3 separate regions of the Homo sapiens genome follow, and regions 1 and 3 are each linked to region 2. Evidence: promoter capture Hi-C in 16 types of primary human blood cells and fetal thymus (Javierre and others, 2016). All regions are on one chromosome and are shown on one strand. The core of a region is centred on a gene start or on the middle of the fragment in contact, and the rest is flanking DNA. Distances in the headings are between cores, read along the strand shown. Region 1 overlaps PPFIA4 (PPFI scaffold protein A4). Region 2 holds the start of ADORA1 (adenosine A1 receptor). Region 3 overlaps PPFIA4 (PPFI scaffold protein A4).

Region 1 (2,727 bases), core at 227-2,726, 74 kb after region 2:
CCGCCAGGCTTTGTCTGTCCCACTGGAGCTTAGAAACACATCTCTTTCTTGTTAGCTTGCCTACTCCCTCCGTTTAACAAAAGCAGCTGCTGGGGAAGGAGGCACTTTCGTCAGTGGAACATAAACCATCCTGAAAATCAGAATTCTTGACATACCCCTAACTATAGGGTGGCCTTGAGTCAGGTATTTTGCTGTCTGTGCCTCAGTTTCCCAACATATGCTATGTCTGAAGTGGTATAAGTCAGCAGTTTCCAAGTGTAGGACTTTTAAATGATGCTGACCCCTGGTGGGGTTTTCCCTGTTCCACAGAAAAATGAGAGAAATAATAAAAATGGTACACGTGTGTGCCTGGGAGGCACTCAGCAAGGAGTGCATGCACACGCACACACACACACTCTCTCACACACACATGCTCCAGTAAAGATGCCCACTCCCTTTCACAAAGAAGGACTCGCCTTTATTCTGAGTATGTCTTTCTTACTTCAGGAATGTTAAAATGTCCTTTCTTTTGCAAAATGATTGCGATAATAGATAGTCATTATCATTAATGTTTTACTTTGCAAAATAAAAAGCTGGTGGTCCTACGTTTGTACCTTTCTCTCTCTCTCTCTGTGTGTGTATGTGTGTGTGTGTGTGTGTGTGTGTGTGTGTCTTCTTTGTAACTGGTCTGTGCAATACATTGAACCATTGAACTGGATGTCCTGTACAGCTTATAAAGCTCTGATACACTCCAGCTCAGATATTGCCCTGCTGTTTGTCATTAACATTAATAAACTCATTAAAAAGGCAGGACAAAGTGAAGGTTTTCACAACGTTCCCTGTCACTGTTTCTGTTTGATGCCTTATTAGGGACAGGAGGCATGGTGCAGTGGGCCAAGTTCAGACTTGAGTTTGAATCCTGGCTCTGTCACTTCTGTGTGGCTTTGGGCAAGTCACTTAACCTCTCTGAGTTTCTGTTCCCTTGTCTGTAAAACAGGGATCATGCTGCCTACCTCAGGCACTGTGGTAAGATGGACAGTGACATTTACAAAGCTCTCACCCTGAGCTAGCCTCAGTAAGCAGGAGCTACACTCTTAGTGGTTAAGATCAGCTGCAGGGCTGCAGGAACACAGCATGCATCCTCCTGAGCCCAGCCACATCGCAAGCCCTGAGAGGGGAGGTGAAGCCTGAGAAGTCCACTGAGGCCCTGCTCCTCTCACTCCGGCACTGGCAGCGGGCCTGATGACCCACAGAGGGTCCCTGAACTGTGGTACTCTAAGTTGCAGCTATAAGAGTTGGGCAAACCCATATAGGGTTTTTCCAACACAAAGGGCCCCCCTGCCCTTCAATGCACTTCCCAAGCCCTCCAGCCCTGCCCTAACCTGATTTCCTCATTGATGGCATCCAGCTGCTCCTGCAGCATCATGGCCAGGGTCTGGGCATCTGAGTGGCCGCTGGGGGAGACAACATCCGCAGAGCCCACCAGACCCCCTGGCTCATCCTCATCCACGTCGGAGATCTCAGGGTCACTGTCAAAGGCAGGGCCAGCTGCCGGGGCCAGCATCCCAGGCAGTGGAGAAGTCTCCCAGTCCTTAGCAAAGGAGGAGGGTAAAGGAGTCGTAATAAGACACCCAGATAACTGCAGAGCAGGACCCTCCCTACCTCTACCCACCAGCACTGGCATCTCCTGGGAGCTTGCTGGAAATGCAGAATCTCAGGCCGCACCACCAGACCTACTGATTCAACATCTGCATTTTAACAAGACCCCTGGGTGGTTTTTTGGTTTTTGGTTTTTGGTTTGTTTGTTTTTTGAGATGGAGTCTCCCTCTGTCACCCAGGCTGGAGGGCAGTGGCGTGATCTCGGCTCACTGCAACCTCCGCCTCCCAGGTTCAAGCAATTCTCCTGCCTCAGACTCCCGAGTAGCTAGGATTACAAGCGCACGCCACCACGCCCGGCTGATTTTTTGTATTTTAGTAGAGACGGGGTTTCACCATGTTGCCCAGGCTGGTAGTGAACTTCTGAGCTCAAGCAATCCACCCACCTCAGCCTCCCAAAGTGCTGGGATTACAAGCGTGAGCCACCGTGCCCGGCTGACCCCTGGGTGATTTGTTTGCACATTACAGTCTAAGAAATACTGCTCTAACTGTTAAGAAGAGAATCCAGAGAGAGACGGCTTTGGTTTGAATCTCATCTCCACCAAACACTAGTTGTGCAACCATAGGAACATTTTTTAACCTCTCTGTGCCTCAGTTTCTTCATCTGTAAAATAGGGATGGTAAAGTACTTACCTCATAGATAGCTGTGAGGATCAAATGAGGAAAATACATGTAAAGCCCTTAGCACTGTGCCTGGCACAAAGCAAGCACTACATAAATGCTATCAGTTTCCATCCATACAAACTCAAAGGCTGACTACACCCAGAGAACAGAAAGGCCAAGCAGGCCTGAATAGACAGTCTGCAGAGTTTCAGATCATCACAGGACAGTCTGGTCAACCCTGAGAGGCGGCAGCTTCTCTGAAATCATCCTACAAACCTATCCAGCGGACAAAGGCCCAGAAGAGGGGAGGGTGGAGAACAGAAGAGTAGAGAAGGAAGGAAGGGAGCCAGGGACAGAAAGGTACTCTAACACCCATCCTCTATGACCCAAGCCCCCTAGCTCCCCTTCAGGCTCCTGCAGCCTCTCAGCTCCTGGATAGCTGCTATATTCTTATAAACAGAAAGAGCAAAGAAGTCGGGGGAGAAAGAA
Region 2 (2,942 bases), core at 406-2,905:
CTCCAGCCACCCATCCCCCTCCTGTTTCTCTGGCCCTGCAGAGCGGAGCACGGAAAGGCAGAGTGAGGACTGGAGCACGATGGCCCAAAGAACATCTGGCTTACTTGGGGTCTTATGCTCTACCTTTTTTCCTTTCTAGATGGCCCTCAAGCCAGCCATCATGTGGTGCTGCGAGTACCTTCGGCGCTGTGGACTCACCGGAGAGGGATCTTGACCCGGAGGTAGCGGTCCACAGCAATTGCCAGCAGGGCCAGGATGGAGCTCTGGGTGAGGATGAGGACCGGACAGGCAACCATGAGGCAGGTGTGGAAGTAGGTCTGTGGCCCAATGTTGATGAGGATGGCGAGGGGGATGACCAGGGCACCCACGGCCACATCAGCCACCGCCAGCGACACGATGAAGCAGAAGGTGGCATCCCGCAGCGCCTGGTTCACCTTCACCGCCCAGATCACCAGCACGTTCCCGGGCACAGAGACCAGGGCGATGAGCACCTCGATGCCGATGTAGGCGGCCTGGAAAGCTGAGATGGAGGGCGGCATGGCGGGCACAGGCTGGGCACATCAGCAGACGGGCACCAAGGGGCACGAGGCAAGCACCTGTGTGGTCAGGGAAGCCTGGGATGGGGAGACCCGTCTGGGAGGGGCAGGGAGCTCAGGCTGCCCTGGAACTCCAGGTACCCTGTGATGTGTCCCACTTGTCACATGCAGCTCCTACCCAGGCTGGAGGGGCACCCGGACCCTTCTCTGCCTAATCTTTGTCCCTTCCCTTTATCATTCCCAGAGGTTCCATTCAGCAACTTAAAATAGCAGCGCTCACTCCTCCACTGGCTTTTTTATCAGGTGTGAGGCAGCTCCCAGCGCGCGCGCACACACAGACACACGCACAGAGGGGTCTCCCATGACTGGCTCTGCCCACCCCTGTGCACAGAACAGGATGCAGGGAGCTCACCATCCTGCCTGCTGGCCGGCAGGGGTCCCAGAGGCAGTGCCCAAAGTTCCAGGGAACAGAGCTCCGGGCCGCGCGCGGTAGGGCTGGGCTGGGCTCTGGACAACGCGCGGCAGCTCATAGTCCTCCGGCTCCCGCCGCAGCGCTCCCAGCCCGGCCTTTCAAGCAATCACATGGTACGGCAGAGACTCAGCCCCGGACGCTTTTAAAGAGGTAGCGCCCCTGTTTCGCACCTGGGACTGGGGTGGCAGACGTGGGTCTGGGGACGGAGCCCAGGACAAGGCTGGGGCGTTTCTCCCTATTCCCCAGCGTGCCCGCACCTGCCCTGCGCCCACCCACTTGAGACCCGTCTGGTGCCTGGATCTTAGCAGTCCTCTGGTCCCGTTCCAGCTCTGTCGGGGAACCTTGCCCATGGCCTGCCCCAAGGGGGCATTCCGGTCTCTTCTTTCAACCCTCTCCTGCACCCCCATTGGGGAGCCCCAGGGGTGAACCGAGACTCAGACTTACCCAAGGTCACCAAAGCTGGCAGAGCTCCCGGCTGCCTGACTGTTCTGTCCAAGTGCCCCCACACCTCGACGCCTTCAGCAGCCGCTAGCTCCAGGGATTCCTGGGGAAGCCAAGGCCGGCCGGTAAGCTCCAGAGGGATGGTAGCTGGCTGGGACTCGACTCGGGCGCCTGCGGCTCTGTCGCCCCCGGCGCAGGAGCTGAGTGACAATCGGGCTCCGCACACCGGGAGGGGGCGGGGGCGGCGGCGGCACCCGCCAGCCCCTCCCTCCTCATCCTCCGTCTCCTCCCCCACCCCCTCCTCTTAACAAAGGAAGTGATACTGGGTGAGAAAAGCTGGAAAAAATGTGAGCTTTTCGAAGGGCCTGGTGTGTGCGCCCAGCCTCAGGACTGGACAGAGGCGCATCCTTCCTGTGTCCACTCTCTCCCTTCTCAATGCAGGACTCCTGGGAGCCCTGGTCTGGCCTCCAGCGACCCCTCACCCCTCACGGCACAGCATCTCTTCTGCAGGACTTCAGAATGCCCCCTCTGGGATCTCCCAAAGCAGTCGGTAGCCCTGGCACCCTCCCCCAATCCTAAAACCCTGCTCTCTCCATGAAACCAGTCCCTGCATCTTCTCATCCCATATTGTTTTGCAGGCTCTACCCTGAGTCATTATATTCCTTTCTCATCCATCTTTCAGAATTGCCTTTTAGTCTATTAGCAATTTCTATTTTGCAGATAAGGATGCTGAGGCTCAGGGAAGTGACCTAGCTTCCCAGGATCTCCTGGCAGTGTAACCCGCTCTGCGCTCCTTTTCCTTCCTCCTTCTTCCTCTTCATAGCACAGCGCTAAGCCATAAGGCATCCAGTCCAATCCCCTCATGTTACAGATAAAGAAGCAGGCTCAGGGAAGCAAGGGACTTCCGGAGGGTCACAGGGCAAATCCTAACAGGACCAAAATAAGAATCCCAGGCTCCTGACTCTCTCCACTGGGTCCAGACCCCTCCCCTGGCCACCTTCTGCCAGTTTCGGTTTAGGCAGTCCACTGATATTAACTAATGACCAGACCCTGGACATGGATGGATGCCTCGCAGAGATCCCAACCTGAGAAATCCTTGTTTGTGGGTATTGGGCAAGGGTTCTAGGAAGGCAAAGAGAGTCAGGCTGGGGACCCCAATGTTAGCTAGCCACAACCCAACCTGGCCTCTGGGGGTACTGCCCCCCTCACTGGATCTCAGAATGCAAGGAAAAGGGTTCTGCCCAGAGGAGGGTGGGCACGTTGCTCCCATTGGGGGCTGCACTGAATCACAGTGAGGAATGATGTGGGACCCGGAACCTGGGTAGCTGGGAGGCAGGGAGGAAGGGCAGTTGAGTCTTCTGAGGAGGAGGGGGAAGCCCTCTGTGGGGAAAAATAACTTCCATTTCTGCCTTTAGGGGGAGCAAGGAATCAGTGCCTCAGACAGCAAAATTACATTCCTTCCCTAGAAGCTAGTTGGAGAAATTAGGAAGTGT
Region 3 (2,830 bases), core at 234-2,733, 95 kb after region 2:
TGCCCACCTCGGCCTCCCAAAGTGCTAGTATTATAGGTGTGAGCCACCACACCTGGTCTGAAAATTAAACCTTCTTGAGAGCAAGATGGGGGCTGCTCCTGTCTTGAAAGGCAGACTCCAGAGCAGCTGATGATGCAGGTGACCCTGGGAAGATCCTGAATCTCTCTGAGCTTCCATTCCCCAACCTCTGTGAATGGGAATGATAACAGTACCCACCTCAGACAGCTGGGACACAGGATGTCTAGAGTCAGCCTACACAAAGTGCTGAGATCAGCACCCAGCAAAACTCGGTAAGTGTTCATGAACTCTCAGCACCCTAGGCTCCCAAAGCGCCTCAAGGCTGGGCCCACTGAACTACAATAAGAAAATTACAAATCTATTCTGGCTACAGGAAGCCATTCCCAGAGAAAAAACTCTTGGAAAAGCCCCACTTAAGAGTTTCCACTGCTAGCCACAGATCCCTTCAAAAGCATCCAGTTCTCTGGGCCCCCAACACGACTAGCAGTGAGACTTTACCCCTCTGTGATCAGGTTCCCAAATCTGGAAAATGAACATTATAACACACAATACGCTCCAGTGCTCTCACAGGTTGTCATGAGGCTCAAAGAGGTAACAGACATGAAACAGTTCTGAGAAGTATAAAATGCCGCCCAAGCACAGGTTAGTACCAGCTGCCGAATACACTCAGCCTCCTAATGCCAGGCTCATTCAGGGGACACGGAAGGAAGCATCTGTTCAGACAGGCTCCCCTGGGCCTGAGTCTGTGAAGCCCAGCTCTCCAGCTGCTCCCCAGGAGTTAGACATGGGCCACCTCTTCCCAAGACATGGCCTATCACTTGAGTGAGCACAGAACTTACTGTCTAAACCATGATCCTCTTGGTTTAGAGGGTCATGGTTTAGACAGTAAACCACTGTTAACAATCACACCAGAACACAGGTTTCACCTAGCCATATGGTCACCCTTGCCATTGCCACCCTAGTAGGACTAATGTCAAAACTAATGGGGAAGGCCGGGCATGGTAGCTCATGCCTCTAATCCCAGCACTTTGGGAGGATGAGGTGAAAGACTGCTTGAGCCCAAGAGTTCAAGACCAGCCTAAGCAACATGGTGAGACATCCTCTCTTAAAAAAAAAAAAAAAAAAAAAATGTTAGCTGGGCACAGCGGCATGCGTCTACAGACTACAGTCCCAGTTACTCAGGAGGCTGAAGTGGGAGGATCACTTAAGCCTAGGAGATGGAGGCTGCAGTAAGCCAAGATCACACTACTTACTCCAGCCTGGGTAACAGAGCAAGACCCTATTTCAAAAACAACAACAACAACAAAAAAGCGGGGAAGGGAGAACTACAAGCCTCTGGGCCCCCATCCGCAAATAGTTCCTCTTCTGAAATACCCAAAATTATAGACATCACACCTACCTTTTTAACTTAAGACTGGTGTTTGCAAACTAGGCTTTACGACAAAGTACCTTTAGGGGCAGTCCAAGGCCAAAAGGAGGGTGAAGAGGTGTGACAAACTCAAAAGGCTCTAAATTCCCTTTTCTTACTTTAATCCCATCAACTCCTAATCTGTCCGTTTTATGGGACATCTGATTAAGGTTTCAATTGTATAAAAGGATTCCAAGTCCATGAAGAGGTTAGAAAATCCCTAGTTTAAATATTGTCTACAGAAGCCCCCTGCTAAAACACACACACACACACACACACACACACACGTTCTCTCAGAAAGGCTGTACATCAGTGCAACAGTGACAACCCTGGGAATGCTACACAAGTAACACCAGGAGCCAACCATTTTCCACACTCTAACTGTCTAATAGAGATCATATAGTTACTAAGTCAAAATATGAGTCTGCACCACCGAATACAGACACAGCTTTTGCTGAACTTACATCATTAAGTACATTCCCAGAGAAAACCCTAGACATCTTCTGCTAATCAGAGCCATTAATCAACACAAATGTCCTCAAATAATGTTTGCAGAAGAAGAAACAAAGTAATAAGCATAGCAAATTTGGAGAATAAAAATATTTCAAAACTAGGGATCCATGTGGGACAAATATTAAACAGGGTCCTCTGGTGGTAAAAAAATGCTCAAAGTCACTGCATTCGTAGATCAACCCATCAGATTAGGGAGCCATCGCAGAGGAGAGAAGAGGACGGGTCCGGAGTGCTAATAGGCACCAGGTGTAAAATGTCCAGAGTACAGAACTGCAGGGAGGAATGTAGGCATCATAAAAAATGTGCATTAGTATGTGGTCACAGAAGTGGCGGGCAGTACGAAAAGAGAATGGGGGGGTGTCATGTGTCGTCATGCAACAGAGTGTGTGTGTGATCATGAGAACGCATGGTATATATGTGTGGCCATGAAAAAGGAAGAGAAGCCAGTGCAGTGGTAGTTCATGCCTCGGGCATAAGCCCTCGGTGCAGTAGCACTTTGGAAGGCCAAGGCAGGGAGATTGCTTAAGCTCAGGACTTAGAAACCAGCCTGGGCAACATGGCAAAACCCCATCTCTACTAAAAATATGAAAACTAGCTGGGCATGGTGGCATGCACCTGTATTCCCAGCTACTCGGGAGACTGAGGTGGGAGGAGCACTTGAACCCAGGAGGTTGAGGCTGCAGTGAGCCATGATCATGCCACTGCACTCCAGCCTGGGCAATAGGGAGAGAGAGGGGAAAAGGGGACCGAGAGAGAGAGAGAGTATATGTTGTATGTATGTCTGTGTATAAAGGTATGGTCATAAGAATGGCATCCTGAGAGCACAGGCATGAGAGCAAGTAGGTATATAGACTCATGACAGTGTGTAGATGTGTGTGGTCATAAGTACAT

The links. The method cuts DNA at HindIII sites, captures the fragments that hold promoters and counts their contacts. A CHiCAGO score of 5 or more calls a contact.
Region 1: a contact is called between a fragment that was not itself captured here and the fragment with the promoter of ADORA1 in region 2, in 1 of 17 cell types (M1 macrophages). The highest score is 6.6, in M1 macrophages.
Region 3: a fragment that was not itself captured here is called in contact with the fragment with the promoter of ADORA1 in region 2 in 2 of 17 cell types (M1 macrophages and M0 macrophages); the score reaches 6.0 in M1 macrophages.

The regions. Positions count from the first base shown.
Region 1 is chr1:203,052,596-203,055,322 of GRCh38, reverse strand. It overlaps PPFIA4 (PPFI scaffold protein A4), which reads right to left. Exons shown (of 30, transcript NM_001304331.2): 15 at 1,362-1,570. Among named protein-coding and RNA genes, the nearest start is that of PPFIA4, 27 kb to the right of the region's middle. RefSeq lists enhancers at 1-22, 23-774. The HindIII fragment of the contact is 5,243 bases long and covers 1-2,727 here.
Region 2 is chr1:203,126,439-203,129,380 of GRCh38, reverse strand. ADORA1 (adenosine A1 receptor) reads right to left here and starts at 1,655. Exons shown (of 4, transcript NM_000674.3): 1 at 1,453-1,655; 2 at 949-1,103; 3 at 199-596. The coding sequence starts at 539. RefSeq lists an enhancer at 951-1,931. The HindIII fragment of the contact is 5,732 bases long and covers 1-2,942 here.
Region 3 is chr1:203,030,925-203,033,754 of GRCh38, reverse strand. The region is part of intron 1 of PPFIA4 (PPFI scaffold protein A4); the gene reads right to left. Among named protein-coding and RNA genes, the nearest start is that of PPFIA4, 5.8 kb to the right of the region's middle. The HindIII fragment of the contact is 4,311 bases long and covers 1-2,830 here.